Linked DNA regions of Homo sapiens: all the other regions are linked to region 3. The links are contacts of gene promoters, found by promoter capture Hi-C in human tissues and cell types (Jung and others, 2019). All regions are on one chromosome and are shown on one strand. Each heading gives the region's core, a stretch centred on a gene start or on the middle of the fragment in contact. The rest is flanking DNA. Distances are from core to core; before and after follow the strand shown.

Region 1 (2,752 bases), core at 250-2,749, 160 kb after region 3:
AATCTCTGCCCTTTCCATGATGGAAGAGGTTCAATATAATCAACCTGCCACCAGGTAGCTGGCTGACCACCCTGAGAAATGGTGCCATATCGAGGAATCAGTGTTGGTCTCTGCTGCTGGCAAATTGGGCACTCAGCAGTGGCCATAGCCAGATCAGCCTTGGTGAGTGGAAGCTCATATTGCTGAGCCCATTCATAACCTCCATCCCTGCCACCATGGCCACTTTGTTCACGGGTCCATTGGGCAATGACAGAGGTGCTTGGGAAAGAGGCTGAATGGTGTCCACAGAAGTGGTCATCCTATCCACTTGATTATTAAAATCCTCCTCTGCTGAGGTCACCCATTGGTGAGCACTCACATGGGATACAAATATCTTCACAGTTTTTGACCACTCAGAGAGGTCCATCCACATACCTCTTCCCCACATTTCTTTGTCACAATTTCCGATCATTCTTCTTTCAAGTCCCTGACCATCCAACCAAACCATTAACTACAGCCCATGAATCAGTATATAATCACACATCTGGCCATTTCTCCTTCCATGCAAAGTGCACAACCAGGTTCACTGCTCTTAGTTCTGCCCACTGGGAAGATTTTCCTTCCCTACTGTCCTTCAGGGATGTCCTAGAAAGGGGCTGTAGTGCTGCAGCTCTCCACTTTTGGGTGGTGCCTGCATATCATGCGGAACCATCCACGAACCAGGCCCAACTAATTATAGGGAACTTCCCATGAGGCCGTTGGGGCAGGCTCGGGGAGAGAAGGAAGGGTGGCAGGAGTGGAGACCATGGGCATTTGAACCACTTCCTCATGTAACTTACTTGTGCCTTCAGGACCTGCTGGAACCTGATCACATATATACCACTTCCATCCTGTGGTCATTTCCCTAGTGCCACTTCCATTTGATGACGGAATGCTGCTGTGCACAACCCACTTAATGGCTAGATGGGTCAGAAAGCACCCAGTTTATGATAGGCAGTTCAGGTCGCGTGGTGACTTGGTGACCTACAGTCAAACGTTCAGTTTCCACCAAAGCCCAGTAACAGGCTAAGAGCTGTCTCTCAAAAGGAGAGTAGTTATCTGCAGAAGATGGCAGGGCCTCGCTCCAAAATCCTAGAGGCCTCCACTGTGATTCACCTATGGGAGCCTGCCAAAGGCTCCAAACAGCATGCCTATCTGCCACTGACACCTCAAGCACCATTGGATATGCTGGGCCATATGGCCCAAGTGGCAGAGCAGCTTGCACAGCAGCCTGGACCTGCTGCAGAGCCTTCTCTTGTTCTGGACTCCACTCAAAACTGACAGCTTTTCAGGTCACTCAATAAATGGGCTGGAGTAACACACCCAAATGAGGAATGTGTTGCCTCCAAAATCCAAATAGGCCCACTAGGCATTGTGCCTCTTTCTTGGTTGTAGGAGGGGCCAAATGCAGCAACTTATCCTTCACCTTAGGAGGAATATCTCTACAGGCCCCATACCACTGGACCCTTAGAAATTTTACTGAGGTAGAAGGTCCCTGAATTTTAGGCAGATACACTTCCCATCCTCTGGCATGCAAATGTTTCACCAATAAGTCCAGTGTTTGCTACTTCTTGCTCACTGGATCCAATCTGCATAATGTCATCAATGTAATGGACCAGTGTGATATCTTTTGGAGGCAAAAAGCGATCAAGTTCTCTCTGAATAAGATTATGACACAAAGCCAGATAATTCATATACCCCTGAGGTAGGACAGTAAAGGTATATTGCTGGCCTTGACAGCTGAAGGCAAATTGTTTCTGGTGGGCCTTATGGACAGGAATGGAGAAAAAGGCATTTGCCAAGTCAATGGTTGCACACAAAGTACCAGGAGATGTGTTAATTTGCTCAAATAATGAAACCACATCTGGTACAGCAGCTGCAATTGGAATCATCACTTGGTTAAGCTTATGGTAATCCACTGTCATTCTCCAAGATCCATCTGTCTTCTGCACAGGCCAAATGGGAGAGTTGAATGGGAATGTGGTGGGAATCACCACCCCTGAGTCTTTCAAGTCCTTGGTGGTGGCACTAATCTCTGCAATCCCTCCAGGGACACAATATTGTTTTTGATTTACTATTTTTCTAGGTAGAGGCAGCTCTAATGGCTTTCATTTGGCCTTTCTCACCACAGTAGCCGTCACCCTACCAGTCAGGGAGCCAATGTGAAGGTTCTGCCAGCTGCTAAGTATGTCTATGCCAATTATGCATTCTCGCACTAGGGAAATGACCACAGGATGAGTCCAGAGACCCACTGGACCCACTGTAAGTCAGACCTGAGCTAAAACTTCATTAATTACCTGACTCCCATAAGCCCCTACTTTAACTGGAGGACCACAATGACGTTTTGGGTCCCCTGGAATCCATGTCAGCTCAGAGCCAGTGTCCAGTAGTCCCTGAAATGTCTGATCATTTCCCTTTCCCCAGCGCACAGTTATCCTGGTAAAAGGCCAGAGGTCTCCTTGGGGAAGGATGGGAGAAAGATTCACTGCATAAATTGCTGGTAATGTAGTAGGGTCCTTCCTAATGGGAACTTGGCTTCCCCTTCATTCAAGTGGTTCTGGATCTGTAAACTGGCTCAAGTCTGGAAATTGATTAAGAGGCCATGATTCTACATTTTTATAATTCAAATTAGTCTTTTATCCATTCGACCTAGAAGTTTTCTGCTTGTATAAATTAAGTAGGAATGCAGTAGGCTTTCTATCAATTTCACTTCTAGGAACACCATGATTAATTA
Region 2 (2,883 bases), core at 19-2,518, 150 kb after region 3:
TGCACCAATCACCTACATTCTGTCATTAACTTATTATCTTTGTTTAATTGATTATCCTTGTGTCCATCACCAATCCATCTATTTTATGCATTTCAAAGCCAGTTGCAAACATCATTTCACTTCTTAAATACTTCTGCGTGCATATCATTAAACATTTGTTTATAGTTATTTTTCCTTTTAAGGTAATATTTTCAAACAACAAAATGCATAAATAAGGGTGTACGTTTGCTGAGTAATGTAATTATCAAATCAGGTGCCCATGTGTGATGATCAAATCGGGTACCCGTGTGTGATGATCAGATCCTTCTGTCTAATTGTATGTTTGTACCCCTTAACAACCTCTGTTCATCCCCTTCCCCCACACTCTTCCCAGCATCTGGTAACTATCATTTTACCCTCTACCTCCATGAGATCAACTTTTTAAGCTCCCACATGTGAGTGAGAACATGCAATATTTGTCTTTCTATGGCCAGCTTATTTCACTTGTCATAATGACCTCCAGTTCCATCCATGTTGCTGCACATGATAAGATTTCATTCTTTTTTATGGCTGAATAGTATTCCATTGTGTATATATACCACATTTTCCTTATCCCTTCATTCATTGATGGACACTTAGGTTGATTCCATATCTTGGCTATTGTGAATAGTGCTGCAATAAACATGGGGGTACAGGTATCCCTTTGATATACTGATTTCTTTTCCTTTGGATAAATACCCAGTGGGATTGCTGGTTCATATGGTAGTTCTATTTTTAGTTTTTGAGAAACCTCCATACTGTTTGCCATGATGGCTGTACTAATTTACATATCCACTAACAGTGCACGAGAGTTCCCTTTTATCTGCGCTCTTGCCGCCATTTGTTATTTTTTTGTCTTTTTGATAATAACCGTCCTAACTGGGATGAGATGACATCTCATTGTGGTTTTGATTTGTGTCTCCCTGATGATTCTTGATGTTGAGCATTTTTTTTACATACCTGTTGTCTATTTGCATGTCTTCTTTTGAGAAATGTCTATTCAGATCATTTGCCCATTTTTAAATCTTTTTTTTTCTGTTGAGATGTTGCAGCTTCTTTTATATTCTGGATATTAATCACTTCTTGGATGATTGGTTTGCAGATATTTTCTCCCATTCTATAGGTTGTCTCACCACTCTTTTGATTGTTTCCTTCACCATGTAAAAATCTTTTAGTTTGATATAACACTATTTGTTAATTTTTGCTTTTGTTGCTTGTGATTTCAAGGTCTTATTCATAAAATCTTTTTTTTCAGACCAATGTTCTGAAGCATTTACCCTATGTTTTCTTCTAGCAGTTTTATAGTTTTGGGTCTTACATTTAGATCTTTGATTCATTTTGAGTTGATTTTTGTATAGAGTAGAAAGGGGTCTAGTTTTATTCTTCTGCATGTGAATATCTAGTTTTCCCAGTACCATTTATTAAAGAAGCTGTCCTTTCCTCAGTGAATATTCTTGGCACCTTTGTCAAAAATCAGTTGGCTGTAGATATGTGGATTAATTTCTGGGTTCTCCATTCTGTTCCATTGGTCTATGTGTCTGTTTTTATGCCAGTACCATGCCATTGCTGTTTTGGTTACTGCAGCTTTGTAGTATATTTTGAGGTCTGCTAATGTGATGATAGCTTCAGCTTTGTTCCTTTTGCTCAGGATTGCTTTGGCTATTCGGGATATTTTGTGATTCCATACAAATTTTATGATTTTTTTTCTAGTTCTGTAGGAATGTCATTGGTATTTTGGTAGAGATAGCACTGAATCTGTAGATTGCCTTGGGTAGTATTGTCATTCTCCTATCCATAAGCATGAGATATCTCTCTATTTGTATCCTCTTCAATTTTGTTATCAATATTTTGTAGTTTTCCCTGTAGAGATCTTTTACTTCCTTGGCTAAATTTGTTCCTAGGCACTGTTTTTTTGTATCTATTGTAAATGGGATTGCTTTCTTGATTTCTTTTTCAGCTAGTTCATTGTTCATGTGCCTTAATCCATTTGTGTTGCTATAAAGGAATACCTGAGGTTGGGTAATTTATGAAGAAATTAGGTTTATTTGGCTCACAGTTCTGCAGGCTGTAACAGAAGCATGGCACTAGCATATGCTTCTGGTGAGGGCCTCAAAGCTTCCACTCATGGAAGAAGGCAAGACGGAGCTGCCTCACATGGTGAGGTGAAGGGAGAGAGAAAGATGGAAGAAAGGTGCCAGGCTTTTAAAATATAATCAGTTCTTGCTCATTACCATGAAGATGGCACCAAGACATTCATTAGGGATCTGCTCCCATGCTCCAAATACCTGCCATTAGGCCCCACCTCCAACATTGGGGAACAAATTTCAACATGAGATTTGGAGGGGACAAATATCTAAACTGTATTGTCACGTATAGAAATGCTACTGATTTTTGTATATTAGAATCCTGCAACTTTACTAAATTTATCAGTACTAAGAGTTAGAACTTTCTTTTCCTCTAAGCACTGAAACAAGGATGCCCCCCCGACTTTTCTTCATTCAATAAGCTGTTAACTGTGGGTTTGTCATATATATTTATTATGTTGAGTTACTTTGATTATATATTTAATTTATTAAGAGTTTTTATCATGAAGGAGATGTTGAATTTTATCAAAACATTTTTCTGCATCTATTGAGATGATCATGTTTTTTTCCCTTCATTCTACTGATGTATGTATGATGTTTGTTGATTTGTGTAGGTTGAACTATCCTTGCATTCCTGGGATAAAGCCCACTTGAGCATGGTTATTGTTTTTTGATGTGTTGTTTAATTCAGTTTGCTAGTATTTTGTTGAGGATTTTTGCATCTATGTACACAAGAGATATTGGCCTGTAGTTTTCTTTTTGCTGTTGTTATGTCCTTGTC
Region 3 (2,852 bases), core at 316-2,815:
GCCCCGGAGGGCCCGCGCCAGGAGTCTCCGCCCGAACCCCCGCTCGGGCAGGACCCCCGCCAGGAGGAGCTGCGCTTGAGGGGTCCCCTTCGAGCCAAACTTCAAATCCAACTCCTCGGACGGCCAATTTACGTCATCGCGGGTTTCCATGGCAACGCAGACAGGCCCGAGACGCGTCTTCAGGAAGAAAAAGCCATTGGGGGCCCACTGGAGCCTCGCTTCTGGTTCCGGGCCCAGCGCCCCGGGCGGAATGCGGGGTTGGAAAGGGGGGACTAGCCTGTGTGTGGGGTCCAACCCCCCCACCCCACACACCAGACCTTCCCTTTGCATTGCTGCGTCATGGGGGCCTCCTCCCACGGATGACACGCGGCTCGTGGAACTGGGGGGCCGCCTCTGCTTCTCCTCCCGGCCCCTCCCTGCACCTGCGCTGTCGCGGCATCTTCTGCGGGTCCCCTGCGCCCCACCCGCCGCGCTCTGGCAGGGAGGCAGTGCCCGGCTCCTGTCTCTGGGGCGGGGAAGGCGTGGGATGCTGATGGCAGATGGGTGGGGGCGCGGGTGAGTGAGGCCGTGCAGATGGACAGATGGATGGCGGGGGCGGGGGTGCAGGCTCTCAGTCGAAAGTCCACGGAAGCTCGGCTGGAGGTCACGTCACAGACTCGCTTCCGCATGCGCCCCCCCCAACCATGGAATGCTGCGTCACGCTGGGGGGTGCGCGCAGGTGGGCTTGTGCGGGCCGGGCACCAGCGCGTGTGACTGCGGATCTGAGGGTCCCGCCCAGCCCCCGCGGGCGCCACCGCAGCCTCCCGCCCCTGGCGCTGCAGGGGGCTGTGGCTGCCCCGCTTATTAAAAGGCAGCTGCACTGCGGGGTCGGCGCAGCCCCTCGGAGGGGAGTGGGCGCGCAGCTGCTCCCGCTTCCAGCCCAGCCACCTGTGGCCCCGCACCCGAGCCTGCTGCAGGTGGTTCCGGAGCCGCGCCCCTCCCGGCCTCCTGGCCACCTCTTGCCTGTCACGCAGACGCCCCCATCAAGCCCACCGCCCACCCCCAACCCCCGTGCGGGCAGCGGCTCCTCGGTGCTCTGGTCCGACGCCCCTTCTGTCGCCCTCCCCACCCCGCCTCCGGCGGACAGAGCTGGGCGGGAGCTGGGACTGGTACCCCCTCCCCACCTCGGAGACACCCTTAACTCCAGGCTGCGATCCTCGTGCCGGGGCCCCGCCGTCACGGGAAGCCTGGAGACCACCGCCCTCGGGTCCGCGGGGTCGGACTGGCCTGGGGCAGCCAGAGGAGGCCCGAGGGAGGAGGGCGGCCGTGCAGCGCGCCCTGCACACTCGCACCCGCACACGCGCCTCGCACACACGCACTCACACCCTCATCCGCACGCGCGCCACGCACAAGCGCACTCGCGAGCACACGCACCTCGCACACACACCCGCACACGCGCCTCGCACCCCCGCACCCCTTCGGGCCCCCCGCCCACATTCTGCAAGAAATGTGGAAATAGCTCACAGGCGGCTCCACTGGCAGCTGCTGCAGGACGCGGTCGGGGAGGACGACGATGCGGATGTGGATGCGGAGGATGCGGTTCCAGACGCTTCGCGGCCGGGCGGGGCGGGGGCTGCAGCTGCGAGACCGAGGCTGTGGTCGCCATGGAAACGCGGCTAGAGGCGGGGCCTCGACTCTGGTCCCGCACCCTCTACCCCCACCCACCGCCCCGGCTAGGGAGCCGCGCATGCGCCCCTCAGACCCTGCTCGGGCCTCACCACACACCTCATACACACACCTGATGCACACACACCTGACACATCCCCAGAAACCACACCTCGAACACCAGACACATCCAAACACACACCTCACACACATCCCAGACACACACCTCACACAAACACCCCCCACACACACACCTCACAAACACCCCAAACACCTGACACACACACACCCCAGAATCACACATCTCGAACACCAGACACATCCAAACACACCCCAGACACACACACCCCAGACACACACCCAACACACACCCGACACACACACCACACACACCTCACACACACCCCAGACACACACACACCTGACACACCCGACACACCCCCAGAATCACACACCTCAAACACCACATTCAAACACACACCTCACACACACCCGACACACACCTGACACACACGTGACACACACACCTGACACACCCCCAGAAACATACACCTGACACACACCTCACACACACCCAACAACACATATACCTGATACACACCCCAGGCACACATTTGACACACACACCCCACACACCTGACACACATACCCCAGAAACACCTCAAACAACAGATACATCCAAACACACACCTCACACACACCTGACACACACACCCTAGTAATACACACATCAAATACCAGACATCCAAACACACATCTCACACACACCTCAGACACACACACAGCTGACACACACCTGACAGCCCCCAGAAACACACATTTCAAACACCAGACACATCCAGACACACACCTCACACACACCCCAGACACACACACACCTGAGACACACCCCACACACCTAACCCGCACCCCACACACCTGACCCACACCCCAGAAACACACATCTGACACACACCCCAGACACACACACCTGACACTCTCCCCAGAAACACCTCAAACACCAAATACATCTAAACACACAATTCACACACACCCCAGATATACCTCACACACACACCCCAGACATACCTCACACACACACACCTGACACCCCAGAAACACACCTCACACACCAGACACACCCACACATCTCACATACACGACACGCACCTGACACCCACCCCAGAAACACACATCTCACACACCAGACACCCAAACACACCTCACAC
Region 4 (2,700 bases), core at 1-2,500, 130 kb after region 3:
CTCCCCCAACCCTTCCCAACCTCTAGTATCCTCTGTTCTGCTTTTCACTTCTAGGAGATCAACATTTTTAAGCTTCCATTTATGAGTGAGAACATGTGCTATTTAGCTTTCTAGCTTGTTTCACTTAACACAGTGTCCTCCAGTTCCATCCGTATTGCTGCAAATGATGGGATTTTATTGTTTTTTTAATGGCTGAGTAACTCCATTGTGTATATGCTGTATTTTCTCTATCCATGTATCTGTTGTTGGACATTACACTCATTCCACATCTTGGCTATTGTCAATAGTGCTGCGGTGAACCTGGGCGTGCAGTGAACCTGGGTGCTGCAGTGAACCTGGGCGTGCAGTGAACCTGGGCGTGCAGTGAACCTGGGTGCTGCAGTGAACCTGGGCGTGCAGTGAACCTGGGCGTGCAGATGTTTCTGCTGGGCTGATTTCATTTCCTCTGGGTCTATACACAGCAGTGGGATTGCTGGATTGTGTAGTAGCTCTAGTTTAAATTTTCTGAAGAAGCTCTATACTGTTTCTATAACTGATCTCAGTGCTGGGACCCCTTGAGCTTAGCCCCCTCCTTCTGAGACTGCCCATGGTGCCCAGGCAGGGCACTCCCTGGCCTGACTGTGCTTGCCTTGCAGAGTCGGTGGCTCTGAGGCTGCGAGGTGGGACCTGCTGCTGTGCTGGGTGGCTGGACGTGTTCTACAATGGGACCTGGGGCGCCATGTGCAGCAATGCCCTGAAGGACCTCTCCTTGTCCATCATCTGCAAGCAGCTGGGGTGTGGGGTGTGGGGAGTGGGGCTGGCTGGAGAACAGGCCCTTCCCCTCTGCGGGCACCGGGACCGCCTGGGTGGACAACATCGAGTGCCGCAGGCTGCCCAACTCCACTCTGTGGCAATGCCCTTCCCACCCATGGCACCCGCACTCTTGCGACCTTCGAGAGCAGGTCTGGATTACCTGTGCAGGTGGGCATTAGAGGTCTCTGGGGGTGCCTGGGAAGAGGTTTATCTGTCCTGACAGGTCACTTACAGGGGATGCCATTCAATCAGAGCCTGGGCCTGGGGGTCACTAGGATCCACAGCCTTCCTTGTGAAGCTTCTCTGGGCACCGAAGCTCTCAGAGCTGCTGTTTAACCCGCAGGATTGTCAGAGGACAGGCCACAGGCTGCTGGGGAGCCCCTCAACTGCTCCTCCTGGCTCGGCTGCCCAGGTACCCCTCTGTCCTTGTCGCTGTCCTCCTTCCCATCCCGGTCCAGCCCCCGCAGTGACCGCAGCCCCTTTTGCAGAGGAGGGCGCACTGCGCGTGCGCGGGGGCGAGGACCGCTGCTCCGGGCGCGTGGAGCTCTGGCACGCGGGCTCCTGGGGCACCGTGTGCGACGATGGCTGGGACCTGGCGGACGCGGAGGTCGTGTGCCGCCAGCTGGGCTGTGGTCGGGCCGTCGCCGCCCTGGGGGCCGCCGCCTTTGGCCCTGGCTCCGGGCCCGTGTGGCTGGACGAGGTGGGGTGCCGGGGCAGCGAGGCGTCCCTGTGGGGCTGCCCTGCGGAGCGGTGGGGACGCGGAGACCGCGCGCACGAGGAGGACGCGGGCGTGCGCTGCTGGGGTGAGTGGGGGGCGGTGGGAAGTCGGTCATGGGGCCGGCAGAGGGCGCTGGGATGGAGTCAGTCTTGAGTGTCACTTCGGTGGGCAGGAGAGCTCGCCCAGGTGTTAGTGGGTTGGTTTCCACCCTGGGATTTTTCTGGGATAGGCTGATTTGCTGTGGAGGCCTGTTTGGGACATGCACTCCCTGGGGTTTCCCCCTAATCTTTTTTGGGAATTCCCTTTTGTTTATTCCAATCCTTGTTCATTTCGGGTATGTGTCACCTGGGTGTTGGCAGGTTCAGTTGTTCCCTGCACCTCATTCTCTTTGCAGAAAACAAACAGTTAACCACAGTGATGACCTTAGCAAAAGCAGCAGCAGTGGTAACTTTCCCTGAGCCACTCCCATTCTCTGTGCTCTGGTCACCTCTTGTGACTTGCCCTGGCATCTGCCTGGGGGCCATGTTTTACCAAGGAAGGGGGCTGTCCCTTGAAAGCAGACACCCCCAGTGGACACTAGCCATTTTGGGGTGCTCTGCACAGCTGAAACCAGCAGATGCCCCCCCAGCACTTCCGACTCGCAGGTCCTCCATGAGGGAGAGGGTGTGGCTGGGCCCTTGGAGCCACCCTGTCCTGCTGAGGGTGTGCAGGTCCCCCCCACCACCCAGCTGGCTCAAGACCTCTCCTTTCTCAGAGCCTGGCCCAGGCCCCCCACTGCCTGCAGCTCCCTTCCGGACATTCTGGGTGGTCAGTGTCGTCCTGGGATCCCTTCTTGGTCTTCTCCTTCTGGGCCTCATGGCTTTTCTGATTCTGCCTCGAGTCACACAAGCCATGCAGAGGGGTAAGCGTGAGCCCACCCTGATCCCATCAACTGGTGTGCAGGAGCAAGAGCAGCTCACAGCTCCAGCCTGGTGTTGGGGTCTGGGCAGGCGGGGTGCCCCACAGCAGTCAGGCCTATGCAGACCTACCCCCAAAGTCCAAGGAACTGAGAAGCTGAAGAAAGAGGCAGACAAATCCAGTTCCTTAGAAAGAAACACTTAAAAGGGACTTATGAAGACAAGCCATGTCCATGCCTTGGATGGCCTCTAGCTGAGACGGTGGATGCCCATATTATCATCCCTCACAACTAG

The links. The method cuts DNA at HindIII sites, captures the fragments that hold promoters and counts their contacts. A contact is called where the count stands out against the background at its distance.
Region 1: a contact is called between a fragment that was not itself captured here and the fragment with the promoter of CALY in region 3, in 2 of the 25 tissues and cell types used here (IMR-90 fibroblasts and aorta).
Region 2: a contact is called between a fragment that was not itself captured here and the fragment with the promoter of CALY in region 3, in 1 of the 25 tissues and cell types used here (dorsolateral prefrontal cortex).
Region 4: a contact is called between a fragment that was not itself captured here and the fragment with the promoter of CALY in region 3, in 2 of the 25 tissues and cell types used here (lymphoblastoid cells and spleen).

What each region holds. Positions count from the first base shown.
Region 1 is chr10:133,498,157-133,500,908 of GRCh38, forward strand. All of the region lies in intron 4 of LOC105378575 (a long non-coding RNA gene), which reads right to left. Among named protein-coding and RNA genes, the nearest start is that of CYP2E1, 28 kb to the right of the region's middle. The HindIII fragment of the contact is 6,536 bases long and covers 1-2,752 here.
Region 2 is chr10:133,482,287-133,485,169 of GRCh38, forward strand. No RefSeq gene overlaps it. Among named protein-coding and RNA genes, the nearest start is that of SCART1, 30 kb to the left of the region's middle. The HindIII fragment of the contact is 7,104 bases long and covers 1-2,883 here.
Region 3 is chr10:133,335,331-133,338,182 of GRCh38, forward strand. It overlaps CALY (calcyon neuron specific vesicular protein), which reads right to left and starts at 1,566. Exons shown (of 6, transcript NM_015722.4): 1 at 1,504-1,566. All of the region lies in intron 5 of ZNF511-PRAP1 (ZNF511-PRAP1 readthrough), which reads left to right. RefSeq lists an enhancer at 1-496. The HindIII fragment of the contact is 49,503 bases long and covers 1-2,852 here.
Region 4 is chr10:133,463,971-133,466,670 of GRCh38, forward strand. SCART1 (scavenger receptor family member expressed on T cells 1) reads left to right here. Exons shown (of 12, transcript NM_001396050.1): 7 at 636-941; 8 at 1,136-1,204; 9 at 1,281-1,595; 10 at 2,265-2,411. Among named protein-coding and RNA genes, the nearest start is that of SCART1, 11 kb to the left of the region's middle. The HindIII fragment of the contact is 5,558 bases long and covers 1-2,700 here.